Linked DNA regions of Homo sapiens: region 1 is linked to region 2. The links are contacts of gene promoters, found by promoter capture Hi-C in human tissues and cell types (Jung and others, 2019). All regions are on one chromosome and are shown on one strand. The core of a region is centred on a gene start or on the middle of the fragment in contact, and the rest is flanking DNA. Distances in the headings are between cores, read along the strand shown.

Region 1 (3,627 bases), core at 475-2,974, 39 kb after region 2:
TAATAAGTGCTGTGACATGCTACCAAGTTTTTATTGTCCCCTGTCAAGGGCATCTTTACTGAATCCGAAGATGCTGATTTGATTCTTCCTTGTTGTCTACCTCTGCAAGGCTGATGGTCCCGCTTAGTGTAATTTCTTCGCTGAGCACTGTGGGCCGCAGGGTATTTCTTGCTCAGGGGATGTTTTGACAAGCTAGCCTCTCTAGGGCCCCTGTACGTAGCGACCCTCATAGACACTCCCTCCCAGTGCTGGCTTCCAGGTGGGCACCAGAGGCGAGAGTAGGGGCTCACCATCAAATCGCCGCTGTGCTCCCCAAAACTAGGTGGGCAGAAAGCTAAAAAAGTACAAAAACCATTCAAATTAATAGCAGTTAGTCTGGGGATACAACACATGTGAAAACATAACTCAACAACAACAAAATCAATATGTTAACAGAAATTGAAAACTTTGCGGCTGGGGGTTGGTCCTCAAGCTTTAATGCACACTCTAACCCTGGGGTGCTGGTGAACGTCAAGTCCCAGGTCTCAGGCCTCTGAAGCCTGACAGATGGAGGTGCCAGGGTGCACATGCTCACGGCACCCTGGCGACCCTGACCTCAATGGGGTCCCGAGGACATGGAAGGAGAAATACTTTGAAAGGCGAAGCAACTGGCTGGGCAGGGAGGCCAAGGCGGGCGGAACACTTGAGGTCAGGAGTTCGAGACCAGCCTGGCCAACACGGTGACACCCCGTCTCTACTAAAAATACAAAAATTAGCCAGGCATGGTGGTGGGTGCCTGTAATCCCAGCTACTTGGGAGGTTAAGCCAGGAGAATCACTTGAACCTGGGAGACGGAGGTTGCAGTGAGCCGAGATTGTGCCACTTCACTCCAGCCTGGGCAACAGAGCAAGATGCCATCTCAAATAAATAAATAAGAAAGGAGAAGCGACATCAGAGGGGGCAAGGCTGATCAGGGAAAGCATCCTAGAGTTGAGACTGGGGGGGTTTCATGTGAGGAGGTGAAGGCTGTGGCACATTGTAAAGGAAGCAGTGATTTAAAATGCAAGGAGAGGCCGGGCGCAGTGGCTCACGCCTGTAATCCCAGCACTTGGGAGGCTGAGGCTGGCAGATCACTTGAGGTCAGGAGTTTGAGACCAGCCTGGCCAACATAGTTGAAACCCCTTCTCTACTACAGATACAAAAATTAGCCAGGCATAATGGCGCATGCCTGTAATCCCAGCTACTTGGGAGCCTGAGACACGAGAAACTCTTGAAACCAGGAGGCAAAGGTTGCAGTGAGCAGAGATTGTGGCACTGCATTCCAGCCTGGGTGACAGAGAGAGACAGTCTCAAATAAAATAAAATAATAAAATAAAATATAAAATAAATAAAATGCAAGGAGAAAAGCTGTTCCAGTGGGAAAGGCAGGGAGGCAGGAATTACACGCAGTGATCATGAACTGCATGTATCTAGGCCTTATCTCTCAAATTGTAAAGTCACCTAAAAGGTAGACATTTTCTAGGTACAGCTATGATATAGAATTTAGACTAACAAATGTCTCTCTCTCCCTCTTCCCTGCCTCCCTTTTATTCCATGCTTACAGCTAAGGAAAGGTGAGTGAGCCTCTTGAATGTGGCCCTGATTTGTCCTATGCTCTGGGACCTTCTCCTCCAGCACAAAACCCTCTTTGAGTCTTTGCACATATCCCAAGCTCTCCTGCCGGCTCAGGAGGCACATCCGCTACTTCCCGTCTGCTCCCTAGTGCTTACGGCACGCACGCACCATTACACTGGGTGTGCTTGCTCACTCTGCGCGTGCCTTTGTTTTCTCCCATTGGTGCTAGTTAAAGGAATTTTAAACGAAGCCTTGAGGAAAATGGCGTGCCCCCATGTTCTATCATGGGGAAAACCTTGATCAGTTCCTTCGTTGCAAAAAGATCAAGGATCTTGTTTCAGTTTCAGCTTCAAAGGGCGTGCAATGATCAAAATGTTGTTTGTTTTATTTTAGTTATCAGGATGCAAATTTAGTTTTTGAGGAGTTTGCTCGCCATAATCTGAAAGATGCAGGAGAAGCTGAGGAGGGGAAGAGAGACAAGAATGACGTTGATGAGTGAAGATGTCGGCTCAGGATGCCGGAAAATGACCTGTAGTTACCAGTGCAACGAGCAAAGCCCCACAGTTTAGTCCTTTGGAGTTATGCTGCGTATGAAAGGATGAGTCTTCTTCCGAGAAATAAAGCTTGTTTGTTCTCCCCTGGGTCATGAGTTGGTTGATTTGTTGGGGAGGCTGAGTTGATGACATGACACAAGCTGCCACCATTAGGGTCCCTGGAGTGGGAGGGTTGGGGAGAGGGAGGCCAGCCTCCCACGGAAGGGCTCACCACTCCCATGAGGGAGAGAAGGCGTCTGGAAATCAATGTGCTCACCAGGTGGGGCCCTCGGTGTGTCCAGGGGCTTTCCTAGGAGTCCCAGTCTGAGCTGTTTCTCTGGAAACAGTGCCTTCCCGTCTGTCCGTCTGTCCTTCCTTCCTTCCTTCCTTTATTCCTCCCTCCCTCCCTTCCTTCCTTCGTTTCGCTCTTGTTGCCCAGGCTGGAGTGCTGTGGCGTGATCTCAGCTCACTGCAAGCTCCGCCTCCCGGGTTCACGCCATTCTCCTGCCTCGGCCTCCTGAGTAGCTGGGATTACAGGCGTGTGCCACCATGCCCGCCTAATTTTTTGTATTTTTATTAGAGACAGGGTTTCACCATGTTAGCCAGGCTGGTCTCAAACTGCTGACCTCAGGTGATCCACCCACCTTAGCCTCCCAAAGTGCTGGGATTACAGGCGTGAGCCACTGCGCCTGGCCACCAGTGTATGTTTCTAATTACCTGACCAGTCCCAACTTCCAGGCCCCTAAAGAGCCTCCTAAGTTAAATAGGGCAGAGAACATCTGTGGACAAAAATACTCTTGGTTAATGATTCAACTTTTGGGTCCAGGTGTCTGTTTGAGCTTTGGGTTGTTGGTAAAGTTCTATTCAATGCAAGAAGCAAAATCAGATTTGGTTAAATTAAGGTGGGGAGAAGGAATGTAGTGGGAGGACCCCGGTGTGATCAGAGAACTGAAGGACAAACCTGAGCTGCCACACCTGGGGTAAGCAGGAATCAGAGAAGCTTCAGGGGTCAGGGACCCACTCTCCAGGGCGGCTCTTCATGCAGCTCAGCACCATACGTTCCCAGCTCTGCGTCTCTTGGTCCCAGTGGGCAGTTATTGGGAAGGAGAATCCAACTGGCTCAGCTTTGGCTGGGAGGATCAACACCCCGTGGTCAGCGATGGCAGAGCCCAGCCCTGGAGATGGAGAGTCCCAGAAAAGGGGGTTGATTGTGAGTCACATGGGCTTACTTAGAGCGTGCTTCACTGAGACTGGGCGTGAGAGGCATAGGGGAGAGCACTCTGAGTGTCAGGGAGGAAGGTGAACTGCAGGTGGAGGAGGGATAATAGAGGTGATACCAGGGCCTTTCCTTTGTGGGGTCCCTTCCTGCCCTGAGGTACCCACCGGGCCTGCTGCTGATGGCACAGATACTGAACAGGCTCATGGCGGCCAAGGAGAGGATGGAGATGCATAGGCTCTGGTCCATCTCTGGTCCATGCTTTAAGGGAGCAGGGTAAAGGGG
Region 2 (4,072 bases), core at 987-3,486:
CTAGACGGAGGTTTAAAGAAAAGCAGGCCAGTGGTGGTGGCTCACGTCTGTAACCCCAACACTTTAGAAGGTTGAGGTGAGAGGATCAGTTGAGGTTGGGAGTTCGAGACCAGCCTGAGCAACATAGCAAGACCCCATCTCTACAAAAAGGTTAAAGAATTAGCTGGGTGTGGTGGCATGTGCCTGTAGTCCTAGCTACTCGGGAGGCTTAAGTGGGAGGAGCGCTTGAGCCCAGGAGTTCAAAGCTGCAGTGAGCTATGATTGCACCACTGCACTCCAGCCTGGGTGACAGAGCGAGACCCTGTCTCTAAAAGAAAAGAAAACAGGCTCAGTACTCTGGAGTGAAGTGGGCAAGGGAGAGGGTGGTGAGAAATAAAGTCAGAGGTAAAGGGGGGCCAGAGCATGCCGGACCTGGCAAGCATTGTCCAGACTTAAATGGGAAGCCATTGGAATGTTTGGGTGGATGCTGATACCCCAAACGTCAGAACAGGCTTTCTGCATATACTTGTTTCATTCCCAAGTCAGTCCCCCATGTAAGTGTGTTAGTGGTCGCAGAGTCCCCTCCATCCATTCCCTGAGTGTTCTTGGGAGCAGGCATTGTTCTGGGCACTGTGAAGACAAAAGTGAAGGAAACAAAATGGCCTAGGCCCTGCCCTCATGGAGCCTGGACTCCAGTGAGGGAAGAGAGACTGTAGAATAATTCCCAAGCAAGAGTGAAATGTGGCCAGGCACGGTAGCTCATGCCTATAATCCCAGCACTTCAGGAGGCCAGGAGTTTGACACCAACCTGGCCAACATGACGAAACCCCATCTCTATTAAAAATACAAAAATTAGCTGGGCATGCTGGTGCACAACTGTAATCCCAGCTACTCGGGAGGCTGAGACAGGAGAATCGCTTGCACCCAGGAGGTGGAGGCTGCAGTGAGCCGAGATCGCGCCACTGCACTCCAGCCCAGGCAACAGAGTGAGACTCTATCTCGAAAGCAAAAAAAAAAAAGAGTGAAATGCAAGCGTGCCTCCAATCTGGTCCTGGAGGTTGGGGATAGCTCCCCTGAGGAAGTGACTCCTGGTCAAAAATCTGAAAGGCCAAGAAGAGTCAACAAAGTGGAGAGAGGAGAGGCTTGTTCCAGGCAGAAATAATAGTGGGAAGGAGGAAGCGTGGCAGACGGCGTGGAAGGAAAGGCAGGCAGAGGTTCCAGAGGCTGCAAGCTTTTTGCCTGCATTCTAAGAGCAATGGGTGATTGTAAGCGAGGGATGACAGGGCTCAGAAGGTCTCTCTGCCTCTGTGTGGAAAAGGGCTTGGAGGGTAGAAATAAATGTGGTCGGCTGGGTGCGGTGACTCATTCCTGGAATCCCAGCACTTTGGGAGGCCGAGGCAGGTGGATCACCTGAGGTCAGGAGTTCGAGACCAGCCTGGCCAACATAGTAAAACCCTGTCTCTACTAAAAATACAAAATTAGCTCAGTGTGGTGGTAGGCGCCTGTAGTCCCAGCTACTCTGGAGGCTGAGGCAAGAGAATCACTTGAACCTGGGAGGCAGAAGTTTCAGCAAGCTGAGACTGCACCACTGCACTTCAGCCTGGGAGGCAGAAGTTTCAGCAAGCTGAGACTGCACCACTGCACTTCAGCCTGGGAGACAGAGCAAGACTCCATCTCAAAACAAAAAACAAAACAAAAAAAAGAAAAGAAATAGATGTAGTCAGACAGTGGGGAATCACTCCGGTCCTGAGAAGCAAAGGCGGTGCTGGGGATGGGAGGATGCAGACAGGTTCCAGAGACACTGAGGGGATCAACAGGACTCCTGAAGCCATCAATCAGTAGGACCGGGTGGAGGAGAGGGACAGATCCAGCTTGGCTTGCATAACACCAGGTTCATCTTGAGGTTGACATTTCTCCTTGACCTTTTTGTTTAGTCCCCACCCGCAAGGTCGCATTAGCTGCCTGCTGAGTTTAATCAAATCTCTTCCTGTCCTGGCAATGCCCGGGAATGAAGAGATAATCAGTCTATTTCCAGAATCCAAAGAGGTTTAGAAGAAAAAGTAGCTTTCATTTAGCTGTTGGCCCTCCCACCAACCTTCCCCAAGTCAGCTGGGTGACTCATACATCTGTGAGACCCTCCGTATGGAGACCGGGGCGGGGGGTGTTGCTTAATGCTTAGAACTGCTGAAACTACCAGTTCACTGTCTCAGCACTAATCCAACTCTGCTCCTTAAGTGGGATTTGGCTTTTAGACATTGAGACCTGGATGCTGGGCATCCTCGCTAGATCCCCTACAAATTCCCCACATACGTAGGCCAGGAGCCTCAGCGGTGCCCCTTCAGGCTCATCTGGCAAGACGGTACCAGCTTGCTCAGAACAGGGGCTGGCTATTCATCATCTCAGAGCATAGAGACCCTCTCCTTGCCACCCGGCCCTTCCCACCTGGTTGGTGACAAATCACAAGGTATGTGACCACCACAGGCCAAAACCTTATCAGAAACCTGGGGCAGGTGTGGGGAAGAGCAAGGATGGGCGTTTTCCTGCAGACAGTATGTCCCGCCTTCACCTTTTCTGTGTGGTTTCCATAAGACTTGGTTGCTATTTAAGGAGACTTGGAGTGAGCGGGTGCAATGGCTCATGCCTATAGTCCCAGTGACTCAGGAGGCTGAGGCTGGAGGATCACTTGAAGCCAGGAATTCGAGACCAACTTGAGCAATACAGTCAGACCCAGTCTCTACAAAAAAACAAAAATAAAAATAAATTAGCTAGGCATGGTGTCACACACCTGTAGTCCTGGCTACTCAGCTGGCTGAGGCAGGAGGATCACGAGCCCAGGAGTTCGAGGCTGCGGTGAGCTATGATTGTGGCACTGCCCTCCAGCCTGGGCAACAGAACGAGCTCCTATATCTTAAAAAAAAAAAAAACCTCAGAGTATGCTTAATTCTAGACCGCTAAGATGGCCTCTTAATTGTAAAACAGAGTGGCTATCTCTTAGTAGGAATTGCCAAATAGAACTTTTGGGATTTTAATATATTCTTTTTTTTTAAAAAAAGTGATAGGATCTTGCTATGTTGCCCAGGCCAGTCTCCAACTCCTGGTTTCAAATGATCCTCTCGCTTCAGCCTCCCAGAATGTTGAGATGACAGGTGTGAGCCACAGTGCCCGGCCATTAATATCTTCTTGAAAACAGTCTTTGCGAAGTGGTTATGTTGTGGTTTTCAGGAACTTTTCTGATTTATTCGCCATTAGACACAGTCACGATAGAACTTTAAATTCAACCTGGCTAAGTGTGATAACACCAAAGGTTAGTCAGAAAGTAAAACCTCATTGGAATCTAGCTAGACTCCCTGGCAAGGTGTACTGAGAAATGTTTGAAGCTTACCAAGAAAAATAAAATATTGAAAACACCCCAAAGCATGCTGCAGTAAAATACAAACTAAGCAAAGACTCACCGATGAAACTCGGATGTTGAAGCCGGTACAAGGGCATGGTGAGGACGCACAGGATCTCGTGAGTAGGTTTCATAACTAGGATGTTCTTGACTTGATATTTAGGATTGTCTTACCTTTCTCCAACCCTCTAACACCTGACCAACACCCCAAGGTGGTAGAAGTTGCCAGGGACAGATAACATGGCAGCCAGCGGGAAGACCAGCAAGTCCGAACCGAACCATGTTATCTTCAAGAAGATCTCCCGGGACAAATCGGTGAGTGGTGCACAAGTGAGTGATTTGATAGAAATTATTGTTTAAAAAAAATGGAGCTTTTTCAAGTACAGTGTAGTCATGATCAACATCAAAACTCTTTGAGGGCCAGGGCGCGGTGGCTCATGCCTGTAATCCCAGCACTTTGGGAGGCGGAGGCGGGATAACTTGAGGCCAGGAGTTCGAGACCAGCCTGGCCAACATGGCAAAACCCATCTCTACTAAAAATACAAAAATTAGCTGGGTATGGTGGCAGGCACCTGTAATCCCAGACTTGGGAGGCTGAGGCACAAGAATCACTTGAACCCAGGAGGTACAGGTTGCAGTGAGCCCAGATGGTGCCACTGCACTCTAGCCTGGGTAGCAGAGGGAGACTCTGTCTCAAATAAA

Evidence for each region. The method cuts DNA at HindIII sites, captures the fragments that hold promoters and counts their contacts. A contact is called where the count stands out against the background at its distance.
Region 1: a fragment that was not itself captured here is called in contact with the fragment with the promoter of SAG in region 2 in 3 of the 25 tissues and cell types used here (adrenal gland, mesenchymal stem cells and pancreas).

What each region holds. Positions count from the first base shown.
Region 1 is chr2:233,344,821-233,348,447 of GRCh38, forward strand. SAG (S-antigen visual arrestin) reads left to right here. Exons shown (of 16, transcript NM_000541.5): 15 at 1,583-1,592; 16 at 1,987-2,235. The coding sequence ends at 2,092. Among named protein-coding and RNA genes, the nearest start is that of DGKD, 7.9 kb to the right of the region's middle. The HindIII fragment of the contact is 4,969 bases long and covers 1-3,627 here.
Region 2 is chr2:233,305,580-233,309,651 of GRCh38, forward strand. It overlaps SAG (S-antigen visual arrestin), which reads left to right and starts at 2,237. Exons shown (of 16, transcript NM_000541.5): 1 at 2,237-2,443; 2 at 3,583-3,685. The coding sequence starts at 3,611. The HindIII fragment of the contact is 6,559 bases long and covers 1-3,729 here.